Regions from separate parts of the Homo sapiens genome. Here region 1 is linked to region 2. The links are contacts of gene promoters, found by promoter capture Hi-C in human tissues and cell types (Jung and others, 2019). All regions are on one chromosome and are shown on one strand. The core of a region is centred on a gene start or on the middle of the fragment in contact, and the rest is flanking DNA. Distances in the headings are between cores, read along the strand shown. Region 1 overlaps FAM219A (family with sequence similarity 219 member A). Region 2 holds the start of GALT (galactose-1-phosphate uridylyltransferase).

Region 1 (6,678 bases), core at 3,587-6,086, 230 kb before region 2:
ACCTGTGCCTCCCTCTCCTGCTTTGATCCCTAGCCCTTAGCCTTGACTGAGTAGAAGAAGGGCAGGAGGCTTTGCTCAGAGAGGCTGGGTGCCGCAGTGCCTGCATCTTGGGCAACTTCCCATGCTTCAAGTCCTTCATCCTCCCTGGCTCAGCAACCTCCTTGAGAGACTAATAGACAGCACCTGTCCTGCACAGCCTTGGAAAAGCAAACCTCTAGTGGCCCTGACATGCCTCTCTGCAGCCAAAACAGCCTCTCAGCAGCTGCTACCTGCAAGGGAGGTGGAGATGGGACAGCTGGGCTCTGGATTTCCTGTGAGCCCCAGAGACTGCTCACTGCAAAGCAGCCAGAGGGAAGGCTTTTTAAAGGGCAAATCCCATAAACATGCTGATAGGACCCTACCAGGGCAGCACTGGCACATTTCTAAGTCCCAAGTCACATTCCTTCACTTTTTTGGTAGCATTCGTCACATGTCACATATACCACATCCATTTGGAAAAGGCTTCCTCCCTTGGCTCATCTCTTGCCTCTTTGACTATCATTTCTCTGTCCTCCCACAACCCTTTGCCTCCTCTGTAGGGTCCTGCCCTTGGCCCTCCTCTCTCTCCTTGGGGAGCCCTGATGTCTCCTATAGTTCTGATTGGCATTTTTACACTGATGACTTCTAAATCTGTGGCGTTTCAATCCTGCTTCTCCTCCTTAACCTTCTAACCCATCTATCACATGAGAGTGTTAGGCCTCACCATCCTTTCCCTGGGGCTGATTTTTAAAAACACAATCCGTTAGACATTTGGAGCTAACTTTTTACTCCTCAGTGCAGATGAGTTCATCAAAGTTTCTTCTCTCAGTCTGGAGGTACTGGGTATAAATGGTAACATGGGAGGTAGATTTCACAGGAAGGACAGGGCTAGAAAGCTGTTGAGCAACTCTGGTCACAGGGACTCACATGTGGTCCTTGAGGCCTACTGGGCAGTTCCTGATGGTATTTGATCCTGGATGAAACTGCCAGCTCCTTTGGACCACAATTCAGGAGGGCCTGACCAGGGGGCAGAGCCCTAGGCTGAGGGGTCCCATGCAAAGCCCACCATTCAGCATCTCCTCCATCACTATCCATGACAGAAGGCCACCTTAGTGGCAAGCACAAAGATCTCTGGCACTGTGCCTGCAAACATAAGCCTTTACTATGAGCTTCCTCTATGTCTTCCCTTAGAAATGCAGCCAATGCACCACAACCATTGCATGGCAATGTAATCAGGGAGATTAAATGTAAAATATTCATGAATGTAAGTATCAGAAAAGACTCCAGGCAGAAGGAAGTGCCTGGCTCCAAGAAATCAGGGAGAATTTAAAGTGCCCCCCAAGGACATCTGAAGGCGTTAGCTAGATCCGGGAACTAGAGTGGAGATTAACAAGATTATTAATAAACACTCAGCAGAGACAGACATTGAAATGCATCTCTAACAGCAGCCCATGTTTCTGCAACCCTTCAAATAAATTCTCTGAAGACTACAGAGATGATTAATAGCCCAGCCTCACTGTTTCTGGGACAGGATATATAGGCTAATGGCTAGTGCAAAGCCAATATAGCTAGAGGAAGGCAAAAGCATCAGAAGAATCCTTAGAATTATAATAGTTTGGTCCACTGATTTTCATTAAACTGTGTTCCCTGAGTGACTGTGAAGGGGAAGCTATAGGATGTGGGTCTGGTTTCCCTTTAATAAGAGTAGATTCACCTTTATTTCATTTATATATCAGCCTGTTGCAACTTTTTGGTTGGAGAAAAGGTTCTATTTTTTAAAAAAGGTTGAAATCTTTTGATTTTAAATGTTTAAAAATGTTTTATTGTGGAAATTATAACAAGTAGAGAAAATAGTATAGTGAGATCATAGGTACCTATCAACAGCTTCAACAAATATCATCACCCATTCTTTTTAAAAATGAGGAAACCTGGGCCGAGAGGGGAAGTGTCTTACCCAAAGTCAGTGATGGAGTCAATAACCTTTCAAAGCATGCAGGGAGGGACATAGGGAAGAGAACATGATTTGGGCTTGGAGCTAAAGACAGGCCCTCTGGGAGGCTGCTCCATTCCTGCAGGCCCAAGCATCAGTCTGCATATTAACCTCTTCCCTTGTCCCCCTGCCCCAGGGCTGTACCAACTCATGAACTGTCTTTAGCTGGCTGGCCTCACTTGTTGGAGCTGTGGGTAGTGCAGTCAATACAATGGTAGGCTGGGACCCAAGAGATCCCAAATAAGCAGGATAAAATTGGGTGGTAAAAAAGGGAAACAAATGAAAAAAACCAAAGTGTGGAACCTTCAAGGCTCATGCCTGGAGTCTTAAGAAGGAGGATCTGGATAAGTAGATGGAAGAGTCTGCTTTCCTGAATGACCCGCAGACTTTTATGGGCTACTCTGGTAGGACTCTAGGTGGCAAAAAATAAAACTTGTAGAGGGTCTTGTAGTTCCTAATGTATGTCTTCAGATCCACGAGCTTATCTGATTCTCATAAGTACCCAGTAGACATGTGATTGCCTCCCCAACATTCAAATTATACTCCTCCTCCACTGGGCAACAGACATATGGCTTGGATGGGCTGACCTCACTCTCAGTGCCAAGGGGATGCTCTGACTAAAGGAAGACAATCTACACAATCCCATCCTCCTTGCCACACAGACTGAAAGAAAGATTGTAATGGTTAAAAGCACAGACTCTGGAGCCAGAGTGCCTAGGTTCAAATTCCAGCTCCTCCAGTTAGTAGCTGTACAATCTGGGTTTCAGCTTCCTCATCTATAAATGGGACTAACACTAATACCTAGTTCAAGGGTTCTTGTGAGGATGAAAGGAGTTAATATGTATTAAAGCAGTTAGAATAGTCCTTAGCATAGTATACCCTTAGCACTATATCCATGTTAACTGTAAAGATATCATTAGTATAGGTTCAGTGAGGCCTATACTATCATGGTCAGTGTGCCCTGGGAGTGGCTGGCCTGTAGCTGTAGCCCTGACACCACATAGGTTGGAGCCTGGCTTATATATGAAGGTATCTGTAGAAAAGGTGTGCCCTCCTTAGGGTGATGAAAGACCTGACCACAGGGCACCCTGTTTCCTCTCTTCCCTCACTCCAGCATGATACAATTCTTTCATTTATTTAATGATGATAGGGCTCACAAATACAAATAGAAAAGAGTCCCAGCTGGGCATGCTGGCATGCACCTGTAGTCCTAGCTACATGAGGCTGAGGCAGGAGGATCACTTAAACTCAGGAGTTCAAGTCCAGTCTGCGCAACATATTGACATATTGAGACCCTGTCTTTAAAAATAAAAAAAAAAGGGCTGGGCACGGTGGCTCACGCCTGTAATCCTAGCACTTTGGGAGGCCAAAGCGGGTGGATCACGAGGTCAGGAGATCGAGACCACAGTGAAACCCCATCTCTACTAAAAATACAAAAACTTAGCCAGGCACGGTGGTGGGCGCCTGTAGTCCTAGCTACTCGGGAGGCTGAGGCAGGAGAATGGCTAGAACCCGGGAGGCGGAGCTTGCAGTGAGCCAAGATTGCACCCCTGCACTCCAGCCTGGGCGACAGAGCGAGACTCCGTCTCAAAAAAAAAAAAAAAAAGAAAGAAAGAAAGAAAAGAAAACAGTCCCATCTTTAAGAAGTTCCCAATAATTATTAATAAAGGTAACCAAGAGCCATATAAAAGTAGAGAGAATGGGACAAAGGGAGGGTGGTCAAAGGAGACACTTGAAAAGATCTTAAAACATTAGGTCACCAATTAGTTTAAGAGTGAGGAGTAAGGACATTCAGGGAACATGTGAAAAGTCTCAGAAGCATAAAACTAGCATAGTACATTCAAGGAATAGTCGGCATTTTGCTATAGTTGAAGCTCAGAAGGTATGGAGAAAAGTTGCAGGAAATCAAGTTTGTGGAGTCAGGAGGGGGCTCAGATCATGCTGGAAGGTGGGCTTTGATTTTTTTCTTTACTCAGAAGATGACGGGGAGCCAATGAAGCCTTAAGCAGGGAGTAACATGGTCAGATTTGAGATGGAAAAGGACCCTCCGATAGCCATGTGCAAGACGCCTGGGAAGGGAGTGAGATTGGAGGTAAGGATAATTAGGAAACTACTGCAACAATGCCAGCAAGAGATAATAGGGGCCTGAACCAAGCAGCAGCAGAAGATAAAAGAACAGAAAGGAAGATGTCAAAAAACAGTAGAATTGGCAGGCTTCTGATATAAAATGTAAAACAAAGGGTCTGGACATTCCTAGTTTACTGTCTGGAGGTAATTGGGAAGAGTACTAATTATTAAGACAAGTTATTAAATGCAGAAGAAGGCACAACTGCATTGCTAAGGAAAAATCAGATGAGTTCATTTGGGAACAGGTTGAATTTTGAGGTGTCTTTTGGACACCCAGATGATACCACTAGTTGGTAGGATTTGAAGTGTGGGAGCTCAGAAAATGGGTGTGGGCTGGTGGTGATGTAAGTCACAGTGAAGAATAAAGTCTCTCAGAATGAGCGGAGTGAAAAAAAAAAAAACCAAGGGTGAAGTTCTGGGAAATATCCAACCTTAGATAATGAATGGAGGAAGGAGACTGGGTAGGAACAGAGAGGAATAAGAGTAGAACTAGGAACCATTCAAGTAGAGTTTCAAGGTGGAAGAAATCAACAGTGTCAAATAAGCAGGTGGGTCCATAAGATAAAGACAAAATTTAGAAATAAGAAAGTCATAGGTAGTCTCAGTGAACACAATTTTAGCTGAAGAGTAGAAACAGAGCCCAGATGACAAGGGATTTAGGAGAGAATAGGAGATGAAGAAGCAGACAGAGTGACCACAGGCCGTTCTTTAAAAGAGCAAGACTGAGAAGGGAAGGAATGAGAATGGGTGGCAGCCAGAGAGAGCTTTAGAGTTCTAGAATTCCTTTAGAGCTAGGGAATACCAGACCTGTCCTAGACTGAGGGGAAGGAAGCTGTGTAGAAAAGGAGATGTTTGAGGGGGCATGGTCTTTGAGGAATCATGAGCAGATGGAGCCAGAACTTTGGACCATGGGAGGGAGTCTCCTTAACAAAACAGAAGGGAGGTAAGGAAGGTGAGGTGAGGAGAGGAAAGGAGGAAGGGAGGTGGGGGAATCAGATAACATGGAGGCAGAAAGGGGGTGGAAAGTTAGGGGAGTTCCTTCCTAAAAAAAACTCATTAGTAAAAGGAAAAAGGTGAACACTAAGGGGTTGGGAAAAAGAGGAATATTTGGTAGTTGGCCAGAGTGGAAGGAGATCAGACTGGCTGGGCTCTCAGCTACAATCCTCATCTGTCACCCAGCCATGATCCAGTCCCGAGGATGAAAGGCGCTCTCCGTGGTGCTGAACAATCTTGCCATTGTCTTGTGGCCTGAACATGATAATCCAGGGCAGAGACATGATTCAATATCAGCCTTCCCAAGAAGAGGTGACCTCTGTTCTCACCTCCAAGTACTAATTCTTAGGAAGATGAAAATGGAAATGGATTTAGAGTGACGTATGAAGAAGCAAAGCGCTCATACCAATACTATCTAACCCTTCTTCACAGAACACAGAAGAATTTTCCTTTAGTTTTAAGGCTAATTGGGGGAGGCAGTTCTGAGTTGGAGAATGCTGGAAGGCTACTTCTGGAATAAAGTCGTGCCTGTACCTGTTTATTTTCCCTGGATAATAGCAGGAGGCAGGATAGACAGAAAAGCAGAAAGCAGAAATCAGGGCCAGGAAGGATAGTGCTGATAAGAAATGGGAAGTCAGGGAAGGTGTGTGGCTCAGGCCACTCTCTGACAAGTGGGCACAGTAAAATAGAGCATCAAAGACCAGCTCTGTTCCTTATCACAAATTTATCCATTGGTCAGCTGAGAAACTTGGGGCTGTGGTCTTCCTGTTCAGGGCTATTCCATTCCAAAACATCTCATGGCAGTGTGTAGAAATAAGCATGTTTAGGTATCAACTTTTAGAGGGAGACCCAGCAAGTATAACTTAACTTCACTAAGTCCTCATGGTTGGGTAGAAATCTTGCCTCTGGTCCAAGAATAGTTAGTAGCAATCTATGCATTAGTTAGATGGCTCTATTTCCCTGCAGAGGGCTGTCCATTCAGCCTAAAGCATTCCCATCTTCTCTGACTCCACACCTCAACATATGAGTTATCTGGCCAATGACAGCTCTTACTCTGCAGTATGACCTGAAGTCACACCTCAACACATTGGCCATTTCTGAATCCCACTGTTGGGTAGCTCCTGTTTTTGTTCCCCATCTCCCTTTCTCCAAGTTTTCTCCAGGCACTGCCTGCAGAGCCAGGCAATTGGCCAGGACTTATGTCCTTTTGGGACATATTAAGATCCTTAGGGGATAGGTGCAGCAAACCACCATGGCACATGTATACCTATGTAACAAACCTGCACGTTCTGCACATGTATCCCAGAACTTAAAATAAAATAAAATAAAATAAAACAAAATAAAAAGGTCCTTAGGGATCCCACTTACAGGGAAAGACAAAGACTTCTTATAGGGATAAGGTCTTTGTGGGAGATCTGGAAGAGAATCAGGGAAACATAACGGAGAGGATCTCTCCAAGTGTTATTGGGTCTTACAAATGGGGGAGAACAGAAAGTCTGAAGAGAAAGTTTGTGAAGCCTACATTTAGGAGAGAAGGCAGAGAATCCTGG
Region 2 (6,997 bases), core at 4,498-6,997:
GAGCCACTGCACCTGGCCACTTTATTTTAACTTAATTTAATTTTATTTTTTTTGAGATGGTGTCTCCACTGTCGCCCAGGCTGGAGTGCAGTGGCGCAATCTCGGCTCACTGCAACCTCTGCCTCCCAGTTCAAGAAATTCTCCTGCCTCAGCCTCCCGAGTAGCTGGGACTACAGGCACCTGCCACCACATCCAGCTAATTTTTTTGTATTTTTAGTAGAGATGGGGTTTCACCATGTTGGCCAGGCTGGTCTTGAACTCTGACCTCGTGATTTGCCCGCCTCGGCCTCCCAAAGTGCTGGGATTATAGGCGTGAGCCACCGCGCCCGGCCTATTTTTATTTTTTGAGACCGGATCTTGCTCTGTTACCTAGGCTGGAGTTCAGTGGCACGATCACAGCTCATTGCAGCCTTGACCTCTTGGGCTCAAGGGATCATCCTGCCTTGGCCTCCCAAAGTGCTGGAATTACAGGTATGAACCATCATGCCCAGCCACAAGCAAGTTTTTAAAGGCAAAAGAGGACAAGGAGTGGGCTGACACAAAATTGTTTAACAGGAATTCTCATTGGCTTACAGAAACAACATTGATTAGTGATTGGCTATACCTTGTTGAACTATAGGGTATGAGTTATGGTGTCTAGACTATGGCATTTTATGGCTATGTGGTATCAATTTAGAGCCCACATAGCAAGTGGCTTCAAGGGGTAATTATTTGGCTCCATGGGGGTGGGGGAAGGTGAGATATGACTGCTGTTACATGCTGTCACTTTTTTTTTTTTTTTTTTTTGAGACTGAGTCATACTCTGTCGCCCAGGCTGGAGTGCAGTGGCGCAATCTCGGCTCACTGCAACCTCCGCCTCCCGGGTTGAAGCGATTCTCCTGCCTCCGCCACCCAAGTAGCTGGAATTACAGGCACCTGCCACTATGCTCAGCTTTTTGTATTTTTAGTAGTGACAGGGTTTCACCATAATGGCCAGGCTGGTCTCAAACTCCTGACCTCAAGTGATCCCGCCCGCCTTGGTTTCCCAGTGTGCTGGGATTACAAGTGTGAGCCACTGCACCCGGCCTTTTTTTTTCTTTTTAAAATTATTATTATTATTATTATTATTATTTTGAGACGGAGTCTCTTGCACTGTCGCCGGGGCTGGAGTGCAGTGGCATGATCCTGGCTCACTGCAACCTCTGCCTCCCAGGTTCAAGCAATTCTCCTGCCTCAGCCTCCTGAGTAGCTGGGATTACAGGCGCCCGCCACCATGCCCAACTAATTTTTTGTATTTTTAGTAGAGACAGGGTTTCACCATGTTGGCCAGGCTGGTCTCGAACTCCTGACCTCGTGATTCGCCCACCTTGGCCTCCCAAATTGCTGGGATTACAGGCGTGAGCCACCGCGCCAGGCCCATGCTGTCACATTTTAATGCCTCTCTGGGCCTGATAATTAAAAGAGGCTGGCATTTCTCAGATAAAAAGTTTCTTTTCTTTCTCAAGAGTGATGGAATGGGCCAGGCACGGTGGCTCACACCTGTAATCCCAGCACTTTGGGAGGCCGAGGTAGGGGAATCACCTGAGGTTGCCAGTTCAAGATCCAGCCTGACCAACATGGAGAAACCCCATCTCTTCTAAAAATACAAAATTAGCCAGGCGTGGTGGCGCATACCTGTAATCCCAGCTACTCGGGAGGCTGAGGCAGGAGAATCGCTTGAACCTGGGAGGCGGAGGTTATGGTGAGCTGAGAGCACGCCATTGCACTCCAGTTTGGGCAATGAGAGCGAAACTCCATCTAAAAAAATTAAAAAAAGAGTGATGGAATGAAGGGTTAACACAGTGAAATATAATGGTGAGATTCAATGAGATGATGGGAAATGATCATTAGACTTCTCAGTAGGGGCATGTGGCAGAGACAATGCTATACATTCACAAATCCATTTCCTTTTGCTCTTGGACAGCTAGATTACATTCCACAGTCTACTCTGGATCATGTGATTGCATTCTGGCCAATGAAATATAGATAGAAATGATGTATGACATTTCTAGGGCTGGCTCCTAAAGTCTCCTCTGAAATTCTTTTTTTTTTTTTTCTCTTTCTCTTTTTAAGAGACAGGATTGTGCTATGTCACTCCCAGACTGGTATCAAACTCTTGGGCTCAAGTGATCTCCCACCCTGGCTTCCCAAGAGCTGGGGGACTACAGGCACATAGTACTATGCCCAGCTTGAAGTTCTTTACATTTTCTTTCTTCCCATGTCTATTACTGTAGTTATAGAGGATCTCTAGTGGAGTATTCTGAGACCCTAGGACATGGCATAGCTACTAGATGGATGGCACCTGGATCCCTAAATACTGCTTGGAACAGAGCTCCCTGTTACCCCCAGAATTGACTGTAGTGCTAAGCCATTGAGTTTTGGGAGTGTTTGTTACAGCAATTAAGATTACTTACCCTGACAAATATAGGGCAAAAGATGTGTTACAATATACCATGCAGCTAAGAGTAGAGACCAGAAAGATGGCCTCTGTTTTTAAGAAACTTGGCAGGCCGGGCACGGTGGCTCACGCCTGTAATCCCAATACTTTGGGAGGCAGAGGCAGGCGGATCACCTGAGGTCAGGAATTTGGGACCAGCCTGGCCAACGTGGTGAAACCCTGTCTCTACTACAAATACAAAAATTAGCTGGGTGTGGTGGTGCACGCCTGTAATCCCAGCTACAGGGGAGGCTGAGGCAGGAGAATCACTTGAATCAGGAGGCGGATGTTGCAGTGAGCCTAGATTGCACCACTGTACTCCAGCCTGGGCGACAGAGCGAGACTCCATCTAAAAAAAAAAAAAAAAAAAAAAAAAAAGAAACTTGGCAGAGAAATTAAGGATAAAGAAAGGATTATCTAGAGGAGAATACAGGATTGAGGGAACATGTTTTTGTATTGGTTCTGGCTTCTGTGGCATTCCCGACTCGACAATTCACTAAGAACCCTGGGCAGCAGGGATTAGCCCCCAAATTTGGTCTCTGCTCCCCATTCCAGGAACAGCTTTCTGGGATCATCTGGGCCTACACCTCCCCTATCTGGTCTTTCAGAAAGCTTTTCCAGGCCTTTCCAGGTGTGGTGACTTATGTCTGTAATCCCAGCACTTTGGGAAGGCCGAGATGGACAGATTACCTGAGGTCAGGCGTTCAAGACCAGCCTGGCCAACATGGTGAAACTCTGTCTCTAAAAAATACAAAAATTAGCTAGTCATGATGGTGGGTGCCTGTAATTCCAGCTACTCGGGAGGCTGAGGCAGGAGAATCACTTGAACCTGGGAGGCAGAGGTTGCGGTGAGCCGAGATCAAGCCACTGCACTCCAGCCTGGGCAACAGAGTGAAACTCCGTCTTAAAAAAAAAAAATTATATATATATATATATATATATATATATATATATATATATATATATATATATATATATAAATGGATAACCAGCAGCCCTCAGGGGTGCTCTGTCTATGGAGTGGCCATTTTTTTATTCCTTCACTTTCCTGATAAACTTGCTTTCACTTCACACTATGGACTCACCTTGAATTCTTTCTTGTGTGAGATCCAAGAATCCTCTCTTGGGGTCTGGATTGGGATCTCTTTACTGTAACAACACCTCTGGGATCTGGCAGGGAGGGAGCTGGTTAGGCCCATCTTAGTCATTCTCCTCTTCCTCCAAAAAATGACCTTGGGGAGTCATAGAGGAGAATTATGGAGATGTTCCTGAAGAGATGTTCCTGATGGGGGTCAGGATTTAATTAGCATGATTCAGGGGGCGGCACTGAAGCACTGGTGTTCTTGGGAAAATGGAGCTGTCTACAAGCTCTAGTCACTCAAACAAATATAAATGAGAGAATGGAAAAGCAGATCTCCTGTTCCTGTCTCACCTCTTTGGGTAATATGAACAGCCAGTGGGACAGGTAAAACCCCTGTTTCTCAGTCCTCAGCTCCCTGCCCCCTACCTCTGAAGGTAGCCTCTTCCTATTCCAGTCTGAGGACCCTAGGGCAGAGATCAAGTAAATGACCCATGACCTAGTTTTTGCAGCTCAATTGCAAAACACCTGGCTTGGCTTGGTCTTGATTGGGGGAAGGGATGTCCCTGCTATGGCTCAACTTCTAACTCACTGGGTCTCTGTCCTGCATTCCACTGAAGCCTCAGAGGCATCTCACAGCACTGGGAAAAGCCTTGGAAACTTGCATTCAAATCTCAGCTTGGCCACTAATTCTCTGGGTGACCTTGAGTCCTCTGGGCTCCAATGTGAAATGGGGAAGAGGTTTAGACAATATTTAGATGGCTCTTTAAAAGTACTGGGGGCCAGCTGTTTGGGAGGCTGAGGCAGGAGGATCACTTGAAGTCAGGAGTTCAAGACCAGCCTGGCCAACATGTGAAACCCCGTCTCTACTAAAAATACATAAATTAGCCCAGTGTGGTGGCACACAGCTCTAATTCCAGCTACTTGGAGGCTGAGGCAGGAGAATCGCTTGAACCTGGGAGGTGGAGGTTGCAGTGAGCCAAGATCACGCCACTGCACTCCAGCCTGGGTGGCAGAGTGAGACTCTCTCTCAAACAAACAAACAAACAAAAGTACCAGGGGAGGAATTAATTTGAATTTTATCCTAGTGTTAGCCAATTGGTCCCATCCAAGGAAAATTTAGAAAAGGGAAGGGGATGTGTAAAGGAAACACTAGGCCCCACCTAGATGGTGGCTGGAGCTTCTGATAGTCCTGTACTCTCCACATTTTTAGACTTTCTTGTACTTTTTTTTTTTTTTTTGTGACGGAGTCTGCTCTGTCGCCAGGCTAGAGTGCATGGGCACAATCTCGGCTCACTGCAACCTCTGCCTCCTGGGTTCAAGTGATTCTCCTGCCTCAGCCTCCCGAGTAGGTGGGACTACAGGTGCACGCCACCAAGACCAGCTAATTTTTTTTTTTTTTTTTTTTACTAGAGACGGGGTTTCACCATGTTGGCCAGGATGGTCTCAATTTCTTGACCTTGTGATCCGCCTGCCTTGGTCTCCCAAAGTGTTGGGATTACAGGCGTGAGCCACCGAGCCCGGCCATTTTTAGATTTTTTTTTATAGCCCTTTTACCCCTCCCACTTCTTGTGCTGTCTTGGTGTGTGTATGAAAAAGAGAGAGAGAGAGAGAGGAAGGAGAGCAAGAGTGAGAGAAAAAGAGAATATGGTTACTTAGCCCTTTTTCCCAAATCTGTTTTTGCTTTTGGGGATAGGATATGGTTATGGTGAAGTACTCCACACAGACCCCACCAAGTTTGCCTCTCCTGCGCTACAGCCACTGAGCAGGTGACTGAGGCGCTGTTGATCCAGGGTCATATCCTTACTCGCCCTAGAATGTAAGCTCAGGCAGGGCAGAGGCCATGCCTGACATGTGCATCCCAATGCTTTACACAGCCTAGGTGCCTAGCACATGCTAGATGCTTGGTAAATATTTGCTGAATGAAAGATCAAATGAATGATTGCAGCAAGCAAGTCCTGTAGGCATCCTGGAGCCCAAGGATTCTGCAGTAGGCAGCTTTCACAGAGGTTCTTCCAGTGTAGTGGCTCTAGCTCTGGGTGAAGTAGGATCATCAATGTCGGCCCCCAGGGTTCACAGCTGTTCTGAGCCCCGCCCCCAGGTGGCAGGGCAGCCCAGTCAGTCAGTCACGTGCTGGCGGCTGGCCAATCATCGGGGGCGGCGCGGGGAGGGGTGGTGTGGACGGAGAAAGTGAAAGGTGAGGCACGGCCCTGCAGATTTTCCAGCGGATCCCCCGGTGGCCTCATGTCGCGCAGTGGAACCGATCCTCAGCAACGCCAGCAGGCGTCAGAGGCGGACGCCGCAGCAGCAACCTTCCGGGCAAACGGTAACTGCACCGCGGCAGGGACTCGCTGGGGCGCGGAGCCGAGCCCTCCCCTTCCTTAGGAAGCTTTCGTCCCCTCCGAAGGTTGGAACGCTCATCCCGAGCCAGACCGACAAGGCGTACAGTCTGCAGGCCTGTACGAGCAGCAGGCCAATTGGCGCTGGGAAAGTCCAATCCTGGGCCTCTAGCTCCTGAGCGGGACAGGGCCGAGAGGGCGCTCCCGAGCTTGGGCCTGCTGGTGGGTGAGACCCAGGAGAGAGGGAGCTAGAGAGCTCTGAGGACTGATCTTGACTGTCTGCCCCCAGACCATCAGCATATCCGCTACAACCCGCTGCAGGATGAGTGGGTGCTGGTGTCAGCTCACCGCATGAAGCGGCCCTGGCAGGGTCAAGTGGAGCCCCAGCTTCTGAAGACAGTGCCCCGCCATGACCCTCTCAACCCTCTGTGTCCTGGGGCCATCCGAGCCAACGGAGAGGTAAGCCTGTAGAGCCCTGCATCTGCAGGCTGGGCCACGGGGAGTAGTTCCCTCTTAGAACTGTCCTCCACCCACAGGGATAGTGAACCTCCTTCTGGGTCATATCCCACCAAGCTTTTTGGTCCCCTAGGGTGGGCCTTCCCTACTCCCTTGTAGCCTGTCCAGTCTTTGAAGCCCACCAGGTAACTGGTGGTATGGGGCAGTGAGTGCTTCTAGCCTATCCTTGTCGGTAGGTGAATCCCCAGTACGATAGCACCTTCCTGTTTGACAACGACTTCCCAGCTCTGCAGCCTGATGCCCCCAGTCCAGGTAACCTGGCTCCAACTGCTGCTGGGGAGGAGGGTGGCTAGACCTCTTGAGGGACTTCTGCTGCAGAGAGTGATACTCCTTTACCTCAGGACCCAGTGATCATCCCCTTTTCCAAGCAAAGTCTGCTCGAGGAGTCTGGTAACTATGGATTTCCCCTCTTACAACTTTCAAACCAGAGTTGGAGACTCAGCATTGGGGTTCGGCCCTGCCCGTAGCACAGCCAAGCCCTACCTCTCGGTTATCTTTTCTCCCGTCACCACCCAGTAAGGTCATGTGCTTCCACCCCTGGTCGGATGTAACGCTGCCACTCATGTCGGTCCCTGAGATCCGGGCTGTTGTTGATGCATGGGCCTCAGT

What was found. Contacts are between HindIII fragments. The study calls those that stand out against the background at their distance.
Region 1: a contact is called between a fragment that was not itself captured here and the fragment with the promoter of GALT in region 2, in 1 of the 25 tissues and cell types used here (mesendoderm cells).

Annotation. Positions count from the first base shown.
Region 1 is chr9:34,408,080-34,414,757 of GRCh38, forward strand. The region is part of intron 1 of FAM219A (family with sequence similarity 219 member A); the gene reads right to left. Among named protein-coding and RNA genes, the nearest start is that of SPMIP6, 14 kb to the left of the region's middle. The HindIII fragment of the contact is 9,827 bases long and covers 1-6,678 here.
Region 2 is chr9:34,640,928-34,647,924 of GRCh38, forward strand. It overlaps GALT (galactose-1-phosphate uridylyltransferase), which reads left to right and starts at 5,748. Exons shown (of 11, transcript NM_000155.4): 1 at 5,748-5,859; 2 at 6,162-6,331; 3 at 6,565-6,640; 4 at 6,730-6,778; 5 at 6,905-6,997. The coding sequence starts at 5,778. RefSeq lists a silencer at 3,985-4,279 and enhancers at 3,985-4,279, 5,493-5,602, 6,173-6,352. The HindIII fragment of the contact is 1,689 bases long and covers 4,495-6,183 here.